2 separate regions of the Homo sapiens genome follow, and region 2 is linked to region 1. Evidence: promoter capture Hi-C in 16 types of primary human blood cells and fetal thymus (Javierre and others, 2016). All regions are on one chromosome and are shown on one strand. Each heading gives the region's core, a stretch centred on a gene start or on the middle of the fragment in contact. The rest is flanking DNA. Distances are from core to core; before and after follow the strand shown. Region 1 holds the start of SHOX2 (SHOX homeobox 2). Region 2 holds the start of MLF1 (myeloid leukemia factor 1).

What was found. Contacts are between HindIII fragments. The CHiCAGO score rates a contact against its expected background, and 5 or more counts as called.
Region 2: a contact is called between the fragment with the promoter of MLF1 here and the fragment with the promoter of SHOX2 in region 1, in 5 of 17 cell types (naive CD8 T cells, erythroblasts, endothelial precursors and 2 more). The highest score is 8.6, in naive CD8 T cells.

Annotation. Positions count from the first base shown.
Region 1 is chr3:158,103,462-158,109,378 of GRCh38, forward strand. It overlaps SHOX2 (SHOX homeobox 2), which reads right to left and starts at 2,959. Exons shown (of 5, transcript NM_001163678.2): 1 at 2,218-2,959. The coding sequence starts at 2,563. RefSeq lists enhancers at 1-72, 3,147-3,650 and a silencer at 2,349-2,398. The HindIII fragment of the contact is 5,227 bases long and covers 1,776-5,917 here.
Region 2 is chr3:158,568,318-158,574,234 of GRCh38, forward strand. MLF1 (myeloid leukemia factor 1) reads left to right here and starts at 2,877. Exons shown (of 8, transcript NM_001369783.1): 1 at 2,877-3,030. The coding sequence starts at 2,984. MLF1-DT (MLF1 divergent transcript) reads right to left here and starts at 2,749. Exons shown (of 5, transcript NR_104147.1): 1 at 1,854-2,749. The HindIII fragment of the contact is 5,771 bases long and covers 1,182-5,917 here.

The sequences.
Region 1 (5,917 bases), core at 1,709-4,208:
GCAACAGACCCCGGTGTTGTGCCGCACAGGGAGCCGCATCCGCAGACGCCCCTCGCTGCCCCTGGGCTCGGGCCAAACCCTGCATAAGGTCCCCTGGACAGCCAGGTAATCTCCGTCCCGCCTGCCCGACCGGGGTCGCACGAGCACAGGCGCCCACGCCATGTTGGCTGCCCAAAGGGCTCGCCGCCCAAGCCGGGCCAGAAGGCAGGAGGCGGAAAACCAGCCTCCGGTGGCGGGCGAAAGCAACCGCTCTTTCTGTTCTCTCTTCGCCCTCCCTCGTGGAAACGCAGACTCGACCCTAAACGCTTAACCCACAGAGATCAACAGGTTCAAGCGGAATATTCGCGATCCTCGGTTTCTATTGGTTGCTCAAAGCCTTTTCATGCAACCAGCAGCTCGGATGTTTAATAAAATATGAATTTTTCTGCTCTGGGTTTGCACACATCCGTTGCCACTTTCCTGTCCTTCTCCTCCCTTTAAAAACAGGAGCTCTTCTAGTGTGAGCATATACAGCCACCATATATATATCCCCCTGGAACCTTTATCCTCTGCGCCCGAATCAGAGACTCCGGGTTTTAAGAAGTCAAAGCTGAGTTTAGATAGTCGAGGCTGTTTGCAGTTCTTCCCAGCGCAGGATCCAGGCCAGCATGGGTGTTAAAAATCATTTCCGGAAGAGCCGGTCTGCAGAGAAATTAATACTTGCCCTGAGCTTGGAAATCAACAATCCCAGGAACTGCGCCCGCCGGGGGTTCAGACCTGAACCTCGCCGTCAGGCGCGCTGGCGAACCTGTAGTTCGGGCCTGTAGTTGTGGACTCATGGCCGGGAGGCTGCACTGGGCACCTTGACGGTAACTCCACCACTTTACAAATTTAGGAAGACCTGGTGCTGGTTTGGAGGAAGAAGAGTCGCTAGATCTCGGCCCTGCCGGGCATTCTAGCTACGGTGATCTTAAATATTGCCGTATTTTCTAGTTCTCAGAGTTAGTTTTGTGGACATTTGTCCTTTCTTTAGGAAGGAACATTATAGTAAACATTATGGGCCAATTTAATAGCAAAGTATTTTTACTGATATTGTATTGAAATTTAAATATGAAAACACACCCTTCAAATTCTGCCAATGAGGTGGGAAGGCTTTGTCTATTACATGTCATCTACACAGTGGATGCCACTCAAAGTTTTGGGGCTTCGAGGAGATGTCCAAATTTCAAGTTGATCCATAGACTTAATAAAATCTCTATTTTTGTCCCCAAATTTCCAATTACTGATCTAAACAGGAACAGACCGTGTCATAAACAACTTAATTGCTTGCTTAAATATGTGATTCCACGCATGCCACATATTTTCTTAATTGGAAAAATATGGCAGTACACCAGTTACTGCAGGCACCAAGTGCCAAATCAATTTTATTGTTGAACTCCTTTGAATTGGTATAGAACGCTCTGCCATTGAGATAAAGACGTTTCCTAACACTGAGCTAGCACCAAAGGATTTTTGCTCTAAGAGAACCGAGTACTGGGTGATTGAAAACACTAAAGGAATTGTGTAAATATAGATCCCCACCTCCCCCGCCGCCCCCCCCCCCCGCCCCCAACACACCAAGAAACCGAAACGCCTCGCCCGGGAGAAGCAGCGTAGCCTGGACCTCAGCTTTCGTTGGCTTCCTTCTACCTTGAAAGAGAATGGGAAGTTTTGGCCCCTAAGATCCAAAGATTCAGGGGCTCTGCGGAGTTCGAGGGGTCTTGGCGGCCCCAAACACCTAGGCGACCGGAGGGTTAAGCTTTCCACCTCTGCCCCTTCTCCCTCCCGGCAAACTCTGCGCTAGAGGCTAGCTTTAGTCCCGCCGTCTGGTTCAGCACCCCCTCCTGCAGCCCGGCCCCGCGAACTTCCACGTCCGCCTGCGGGCCATCCGGGCTGCGGGCCCATCCTCCCGCTGGTGAAAAATGCATTTCGGTGGAATGGGAACATCTGGGAAGGGCGCGCACAAACCCCACACGCTTCCCCCCACGCCACCCCCACAACACACTAGGACCCCACCCATGACCGAGCATACCACCGGACCCCCACCCTTCCACTATCACTCTAGCTGACAAAGCTGGGGTCCAGGGCCCTCTCCGTGTCCCTCTCCCCTCCCCGCTGGGCCTCGGAGTCCTCTCCCGCCCGAGAGGAGTCCGGAAGGCGGGAAGGGGAACCGCTGCCGGGGGTCAGTCAGGTCGTTACCCTCCGTCAGTCGCGGGCTGCCCGGCTCCCTGCTTCTCTCGGCGGCGCCCATGTCCAGCTCCCGGACGGGAGAGCGCCCTCCTCCAGCTCCTCCGCCTGCTCCTCCTCCTCCTACACCTCCTCCGCCTCCTCCGCCGCCGCCTCCGCCTCCTCCGCCGCCGCCTCCGCCGGCCGCCCGGACTGCCGGGCTGCTGCGGTCGTCGCGGCCCGCCTCGGTGCAGCCGGTCGGCTCCTTGGCCCCGCGCAGCGGCCCGCTCTCCAGCACCTCCCGGTACGTGATCGCCTCCTTCTTCTCCTTCACTTTCTGGTCAAAAGACTTGGAGACGAACGCCGTAAGTTCTTCCATCGCCGCCGCACGTCAGCCCGGCGCTCAACCTCTGCCAGCAGAGCCCCGCTCTTTTTTTCCTTCTTCTTTTTTTACTGCTCCAGCCCCCCCAATAATAACACATCAATGGGACAGGAGGTGGGGGAGGAGAGGGAGGAGGAGAAAGAAGAAGAAAAAGAGGAGAAGAAAGAAGAAAGAGGAGGAGAAGTAGAAGGAGAAAAAGAAGTAAGAAGAGGAGGAGGAGGAAGAAGAGGAAGAGGGGGAGAAGGGTGAAGAGGAGAGGGAGGAGGAGGAGGAGAAGAGAAGGGGCGGGGGCTGCCGGAGGGAAATGGGAACTGATGCTTCCCTGCCGGAGCGCGCTTGTTCAATGTTAAGATCTTTGACAATTCTTCCTGCGGAGAGTTCAGATCTGATAGCGACGCTGCGCTTGAAGTCCCACTATTTATACTTCCTAACGGCGGCCTCTTGTTTTGAGTAAATTACCTCCCCTCGCAACTCGGAGTGAGCCCCCTTCCCGGGTAGCAGTCGCGCCTCTACCGGGGGTTGGGGAGGGGAAAAGGAGAGAAACAGAGAGAGAGAGAGAGAGAGAGAGAGAGAGAGAGAGAGAGAGAGAGAGAAGAGGAGAGAGAGAGATTGGAGTTCGGGCGGGCTGGGGCTGGAGTGGTAGGGCAGCACAGGGGGACCGGAGGGGGCGGGGAGAGAAGGCCGGTCCCCGGCCGCTCAGGTTTTCAGATAGCCCCTGCCGCCTGTGCTCTTGGCCATTAATCCAGGATTGACAAGAATCCCTAATTAATTTAATTAGGCGTGGATTTTGCGTTGGTGTCACGACTTAGTTAAACACTGGGGAGCTGGATAGACCCCGCGGGGTGGGGCCAAGAGGAAACTGACAAGTGCGCAGCTCTTAGAGTCAGTCAGGTATCCCGACACTGCATCCTTCCCTACAGCCTTGCTTCGAGTCAGGGTGCCTCGCAATGCTCAGCTTCGCATTGCTTTTCCTCGTCCCTGCCCTGCATCAACCGCCCAGCAGTTTACAGGCCCCGCATCCCATTCCCGCATCCTGACCCCGCATCCCAATTCTGCATCCCCGCCTCTCCCTCACAATCCCACCCCTGCCGGCCGTAGCTCCACCGCCCAGCATCATCCTGCCCAGAGACAGGGTTGCCTGCACCTTCTCCGACCCGCGCAGCTTCTCTTAGGAGCTTCCCGGCTCGCAGGCAGGCTGAGTCCGGGTCTTCTCCAAGCTCCTCGCCCCTCGGTCCGTGTTATTCGCTCTATTATTCGTGTCCTGGAGCCCAGCTGACTCCTCTATGGACAGACCCCGCTAAAAGGGACCAGTCGATTTAACAAGTTTCCCCAGCAGCTGTTAGCTGACAGATCTCATTTTAAAGTGTTTCCTTAGCGCCCGGTCAAGGACAGCTCGACTTCGTTCGTTTCCTCTCTGAGGTCTCAGAACTCCCACCCTTCTCCCTTACTCTCTGCACTCGGACCCCTCTATGGTGAATTACAGGACTTCTTCTTTAGCATCTTGGGAAACATCCGAGTTTATTTACTAATTTGAAAAACAAGAGATTATCCCTCTTCGAGTCTGAAAAAAAAATCGACGTTAAGTTTGTACCCCCTCTAATTTCATTTATTACGGAGAGCTAAAAAAGAGACGCTCGCCAGGAGTAAAGGTCTCTCTGCCTACCCCCCCCACCACCCCGCTTACGATTTAAAATTCTATTTCTGGGCTATTTTCATCGGAACGGTTTGTTACGTTAGAGGAACATCTATATTCCTGAGTCATTTGTCTGTATTGTGCCGGACAGGGCTTGCTGTGAGAAGTGTGGCTATGCAAATACATACTCACAAAAGAATATTTACATATGATGTTATATTTAAGTGTGTAAACAAATATACCTCTAAGTGTGGCTTAGGGGACATTTTCAAGTACTCTGAATATTAATGCAGACTTTCTGGAAGTTAAAGGTAACTTGATCATTATTTTGGATCTAATACTCTTAGTAAAAATAAGAGGAATTACAGAACATTAATATGTATATCTTCCGTATATTGGTTAAGGCATCAAAACAAATTAGCAGATAATTTAAGAAGTTCCGTCAAAACAACCTGAAACACTTGCAAAAAGAGAACACAATTATAACTTAATATATTAGTGTTTCTCAAATAGATGTAGATAGAAGCTGGATATAACCTTATGTTATACTACAATACTCACATTAAAATGTTCATGTTTGGTGAGTTTAAGGATTATGTATATCATGCTTTTTAGAAACGTTGTTTTCCCTTTTTAAAACATTTCATTTTTTGCCACTTTTAGGAGAGCTAATGTCTATAATTTTTCCGCAGCTATAGCTTTTAGGTATGAATACATTGTTATCAGTACTTGCTTTTGTTTTGTTACACCACAAAAGGGACAAAGTTTCAAAGTTATACGAATTTAGAAACAATTTCACATTGAGTCTTGGGTTACTCTTTGTAACTACTTTCTGATATTATCAGAGGAAAATAATCATACAACTTTAGTCCTTTATGAAAATCTGTTTTTAAGATTATTTAGCAGAAGGGCCAGTAATAGGGAGAGCTAAGAGGATACGGTGCTCAAGGTGCTCTCAAACTGAGGTGTTAAATACATATTCACAAATAACTCAAAAATAACCACTGTTAGAAGTCGGTTAAGGAATCAGGAGACCCACCAGCTACTTGTTTGCCTTTTTAAGTACATGACTTTTAGGTTTGAAGTCATATTTCATCTACTGAGCTTGAGGGAAAGATGACCACTTTGAAGGTAATCAGGGAAGTCACAGACACAACTATTGTGTAATTCAAACCAATAAATTTTCCCATGATCTCAGCTTTTTGGCTCATTGCATATTTAGGAATAGTAGTGTTGATAACAGATGGAGCCATGAGAAATCTTTAGTGTCTGACCACAGATTTCCACTGGCCTAAGGGAAGTTACTTTAAAAAATATTTCAAGGTTTTAAATTCATACATTAATAAATGCTCACAAAGTTCCAATGATGTTGTTTCATTAAACAGCAAATATCTTCCAGAAACAGGGCATTTCAAAATACAGTTTTTGTTTAAAAAAAAAAAAAAGCATTTATGGTAAAGCTCAGCTGACAGTCTGTGGACAGATGCACAGGTTCCAATAAAATTCAGGACCCCAAGGGTTTCCCCAGCTCTTGAATTATTTAAAATATACACGTAGTGTTGTAGTAGTTAAGTTTTAAAACGGTGCCTCAAAACTGGCTAGTTAAGGTACATTATTTACGAAAAATATATTGTGGAGGTGATTTTTCACCATCTCAAATGTCTGCGGAAAACTGTAGCTTGGTTATCTAGCAGTGGTGAATGAGTTGATTCTCATAG
Region 2 (5,917 bases), core at 1,627-4,126, 460 kb after region 1:
TTAGGGATAAACATAATATTAGACATGGTTGCTGTAAAGGTTAAACGAGAAAACATATGTGAAGCACTTAGTGCAATCCTTGGAATATATGAAGTGTAAATGAGAGCTATTACCCTATTAGGCAATTTTCAGTTTACTTGGCTCATCTCATTCCTCACTCAGAAGGTGAGTTTTAAGGCATATGAGTAGGACTGTACATTATATACACCAGGCAAATGCTACTTTAGCACTGCCCTGGAATGCTTTTCCACTAGACATCCACTTCCTTCCTGTGGGTCTTTGCTCAAATTCCCCTTAGTGAGGCGTACACAAAACTTGCTATTTATAATTGCACCTCTCCATACTCCTTACCCTGATCAGCTTTTCTCCCTAACACTTATCACCTTACAATATACTATTTTCTATTTTGTTTATTTTGAGTCTGTCCTTACAAGAACATAAACTCCGGGAAGGCAGAGATTTTTGTCCGTTTTGTTCAATGATGCCTAAGGTCGTAGATCAGTCCCCAACACTGGGTAGTCACTCAATAAATATTTGTAGAATTGAATTTATGTGATGTGAATATATTCCCACTGAATTTTGTACTTTTTAGTTTGGGTCCATTTAGCTTGTCAGCATGATTTTGAAAAATGATTACCCGCTTTCATCCTGCATCTTTAAGTATGACTCATCACTCACATACCATATAACCAGCACTCACAGAGGAAAGCTCCAGGTACCCAGCTCAGTTCAATTACTAGCTGTGTGAACCTTGGCAATTTATTCAGCTTCTCTGTGTCTTGAATGCATCATCTATACATGGGGATAAAAGCCATCTCTACTCCATAAAACTGCTAATGAGGATTCAATGAGGTAATGCATATGGAGTGCCTACAACAGTGCCTGGCACACATTCAATAAATATTAGCTATTATGATTATATTTACAGCCAAGTCCAGGACCCTCTCCTCTCAGTCCTGTTCTGCATCTCTATTCCTCCCATGCTGGAGTATTCATTCTCTCCTGACCCACGCTTTCTTTCATTTCCACCTCTTACCCATCAGTTCTGAAAATGATGTCAAGGTCTCTTCAGTGCCAACTCTGCTCTGCCCTCCTTTTTTTTTTTTTTTGCATTTGTCATTAGATCCAAACTGCTTTCACAAGGTTCAGCTAATTCCCTGACTAACCTGTGCCTGGACTAAAGCTTTTATAACAATGTGATTCTAAAAAAGTTCCCACAGAAACTAGAGGGTAACATTACAAATTTACTTGGCCTTAATCCAGAACTATTTTAACACCATCTTTTATCACATAACTTACTCCATTTCAAGTTTTTTTTTAAGTGTGGCCTCCTTCACATCTTGTGCTTATACTATTTTAAAGAGAAAAACAATTTAAGGTCTTATAAAACAATTTTGTTTGCCTTGAAATTTATTTAGAAATTTTCGAAATTTTGTGTATATGTTCTCTGAGCTTTATTCTGAGTCCAGAGGAAAAGAAAATATCCTCTTTCCTGGATGGGCTGTGCCATCTCATCTTGGGCTGTGAAGTCTGCCCTACCCCATGCCACCAGTCTCAGGGGAAGGAAGCTGCCAGAGAACTTGGCTAAAAAAGGGGGATGGGGAGTAAAAGATCCAAACGATTAAATTTCCAGCTCTCAAAATAACCCCTGACTACTCCTGTCACCTCCAAATCAGGGCTTGCACACTTCTTCATGCTGGCAAAGTGCCACCCCTCTGGCCTGATCCCAGGGGGCCCTGATGAGCTATGGACGCCCCTTTATCTCTGCAAGACAGCCACGTAGAGAAGCTGGGGAGCTCACTGAATTAAGGGTGGACATGCAAGATGTATTTTCTCTTTTCTTATACTCTTACCATTCTTCTCCTTAATCTCTCTTCTGTCTTCCCCTCCATCTGTCTCCAGGCTCCTGAAAGGCCCCGTGATAGTGTTTTCTAAAACTTAGTAATTTGAGTACCACTATCACGATGTTCCTCTCCCCTGCTCTGCCTACCCCTCCGCCCCACCATATCCAAATTCCACCTGTTCTATTTGATAGCTTACTTTTTCACTTAAAAATGCAAAATCTAGCTCTTGATGTATATCACTGATTTAAATTTAAAATCAGTTTCCTTGCCATAAATAGAAAGCTCCCTGATAAATGTAATGCAAATAAAAACATATAGTAGTGGAATTTTAGTTGGATATGGCTGCTTGCTGCAGGCCTGTGCCTGAAACCTGCTGTTAGGTTAAGAAATGCTGGAGAAGTGTTAAAAACATATCAGCATCGCAGTGAGACTTGATCTTTGAAAGAGAGACACAGAAGGACAACCGAAAAGAGAGCAGCTTTCTCAAGAGGTAAATAAGTTTGTTGAAATCTGATAGGCTTCATCCCATTTCCTTCAACAACTGAGTACACTATTTGCTAACTGTACTAAAAAACGTTTTGCACATTTTTTCTTATTATTTGCTCACAGCTTTTGACTACCAGAGAATGTTTCGGATACAGGACTAATTCCTGTGGATGACAGAATGCGACCGTTGAATGGGACATTGGGTGTCATCTGGTCCAAATCTTGACCCCTTTTCATTTTCCCCGAAAGAAAGACTTGCGGCTCGGAACCGAGGGCGGCATGCCCAAGGTCACAGAAAGGGTGGTCTAATGTTTTGGTTCCTGCAGCCCAGAGAACAAGCTATCCCATCCCACAGGAGCCTTGGCGAAAAGCTCCCCGGCCGGCGCAAGGCCAGACTTCTCGCCTCCACTGTGTTGATTGCGGTTGCCAGGGCAGCGGCGCATTGCTCCCCGCCTCGTCCTGGTGACGTCACAGAGCAATGTCCAATGGGAAAGCAGCTCGGTGTCACGCACCTCCTATCCCGGCGGGCACCGCCTGCGCCGCGGCGAGTGAGGCGTCGTCCGTACTGGAGGCTAGCTCTTGTCGCGGCCGCGGCGAGTTAACATCGTTTTTCCAATCTGTCCGCGGCTGCCGCCACCCAAGACAGAGCCAGAATGTTCAGGATGCTGAACAGCAGTTTTGAGGATGACCCCTTCTTCTCGTGAGTTACGGGAGCCAGGAGTCCGGGGTCGCGCGGGAATTAAGGTATCGAGGGGAGCTATTTTAAGGGAAAAGAGCGAGTTTTAGAGGGCGAGAGAGAATTCGGAGTAACTCTGGAGGCGGTTTGAAGGAGACGAGGATTTGGAGGCCTGGGAGGGAAGAGAGAGGAGGATTTAGGGGTGTGTGAGACAGGGAAGAGACGGATTTGGGCGCATGAGGTGGAGAGAGGAGGGTTTGGACGCGTGAGGTAGGCGGAGGGAAGTTTGGGGGCGTGAGGTGTGGGGAGGAGAGTTAAGGCTGGGAGTGGGGGGAGAAGAGTTGAGGCCGGGAGGTGGGGGGAGGAGAATTGAGGGCATGAGGTGGGGAGAAGAGGTTGAGGGCGTGAGGTGAGGGAAGGGTTTGGGAGCATGAGGTGGGAGGGAGGAGGGTTGAGGGCGTGAGGTGAGGGGAAGGGTTGAGGGTGTGAGGTGAGGGGAAGGGTTGAGGGCGTGAGGTGAGGGGAAGGGTTGAGGGCGTGAGGTGAGGGGAAGGGTTGAGGGCGTGAGGTGGGGGAAGGGTTTGAAAGCGTGAGGTGGGGGGAGGAGGGTTGAGGCTGTGAGGTGGGGGGAGGGTTTGGGAGCGTGGGGTGGGAGGAGGAGGGTTTGGGGGAGTAAGGTGGAGGGGGGAGGGTTGAGGGTGTGAGATGGACGAAGGAGGATTTGGGGGTGTGAGGCGTTTGGAGGAGGGTTGAGGGCGTGAGGTGGGGGGAGGGTTTGGGAGCATGAGGTGTGGGGGAGAGTTGAAGGTGTGAGGTGTAGGAGGAGGGTTGAGGACGTGAGGTGGGAGGAGGATTTGGGAGCATGAGGTGTGGGGGAGGGTTGAGGGTGTGAGGTGAGGGGAAGGAGGGTTTTGGACCGCGAGGTGGGGGGAGGAGGGTTGAGGGCGTGAGGTGGGGGGACGGTTTGGGAGCATGAGGTGCAGGGGAGAGTTAAGAGCTTGAAGTGCAGGGACGAGGGTTGAGGGCGTGAGTTGGTGGGGAGGGTTTGGGAGTATGAAGTGCAGGGGAGGATTGAGGGCATGAGTTGGTGGGGATGGTTTGGGAGCGTGAGGTGGCGGTAAGAGGGTTGAGGGTGTGAGGTGGATGGAGGAGGATTTAGGGGCTGAGGAGGATTTGGGGGCATGAGGTGTGGGAGGAGGGTTGGGGAGAAGGGTTGAGGGCGTGAGTTGGTGGGAAGGGCTTGAGAGCATGATGTGGGAGGAGGGTTGAGGGCGTGAGGTAGGGGGAAGAGGTTTGAGGGTGAGAGGTAGTGGGACGAGGGAGGGTTGGGGCGTGAGGTGGAGGGAGGAGGGTTTGGGGGCATGAGGTGTGGGGAAGAGGGTTTAGGGGCATGAGGTGTGGGGGTAGGAGGGTTGAGGGTGTGAGGTGGACAGAGGAGAGTTGATGGCGTGCAGTGGGGGGAGGAGGGTTTGGGGGCGTGAGGTCGCAGGAGGATGGTTGAGGACGTGAGGTAGAGAGTTGAGGGCCCCAGGTAGGGGGAGGAGGATTTGGCTGCATGAGATGGAAAGAAGGCCCTTCCTCACACTCCCGGGGTGCCTGCTGCTTTCCATTTGGCCGGACTTTGGGTGCCCGTCATGGCTTCCTGTGTGCAGAGTTGGCCTTTGCAGCTTCAAGGGCTTTGCAGGTGACATAACTACCATCTCGGTGAAACTTATGGTGAGAATTATGTTCACATAATTGCAAATGGGAGCAGGGAATATTTTATAGCTCCTCTTTAAATTCCAAATAGGAACAGGTAATATTTTATAGCATGACAGTTCATTGAAAAGGGGAAGTTTTTAAAACAGCATTTTCCATGTGAGTGGGGAATGTGTCAATGAGAGCACGACAAAGTTGGAGAGTTGTGCTTTCTCTTCGAAGTTGTTGGAAGTTGCCATGCCAATTGCGCTGTTTTCTTTGCTCGCTTTGTTACAGAGCTAACCTTGTTTGTGAAGGGACTCCGCTTTCTGTCAAAACTAGAAATAGGACAGGGAAGCTGATGGGGCGGGGCGGGGGGAGGGGGGCGGGAGGAGGGCGGCGGGGGGGGGGGGGTGTGTATTTAACACCTCAGGTAAGCAAGTGCCATTCGTTGCCTTTGAAGGTTCCCAGTGAAGTAATGTGATGCCCTAGAAAGAAGGCATCCAGAAATTGGTTTCACTATTATTTATTTTTGAGTTGTGGGATTTTTTTTCCTTAATTCTAACTTTGGCCATTGTTACAAACACATTGACATAGTCTAGTTGTATCCCTAAGAGGGGAAATTTGTAATACTTTTTAGCCTAAGTGTTTTTTGCCAGTTTGAATTTTGATTTCAAGTCTAGTTTATTTTGATCCCTTAAATTTTCTAGGTTTGCAATTTGGAGAGCATTTTTTAAAAAGGTCTTAAAATAAGAGTTTATTGCACATATTTTTCAAACAATATCTGTGGGGGGTGTGTTGTGCGTCTGTGTTTGTTTGTTTGAGACAGGGTCTCACTGTGTTGCCCAGGCTAGAGTGCAGTGGGTTGCTCTCGGCTCACTGCAGCCTCTGCCTCCCAGGCTCAAGCGATCCTCCTGCCTCAGCTTCACAAGTAGCTGGGTCCACAGGAGGGAGCCACCACACCCTGCTAATTTTTTTTGTAGAGAGGAGGTTTCGCCGTGTTACCCAGACTGGTCTCAAACTCTTGAGCTTAAGTGATCTGCCTCCCTCGGCCTCCCAAAATGCTGGGATTACAGGCATGCGCCACTGCACCTAGCCAATGTTGTTGTTTAAATAAATGATTGACTTAAATATGTTAGTACTAATTTAAAGCAAAATAACATTAATAAAAAGATAATGAACAGTGGGAAATGAAATGGTTAATATAGAAAAATAAAATGATTAAAATTTTTTT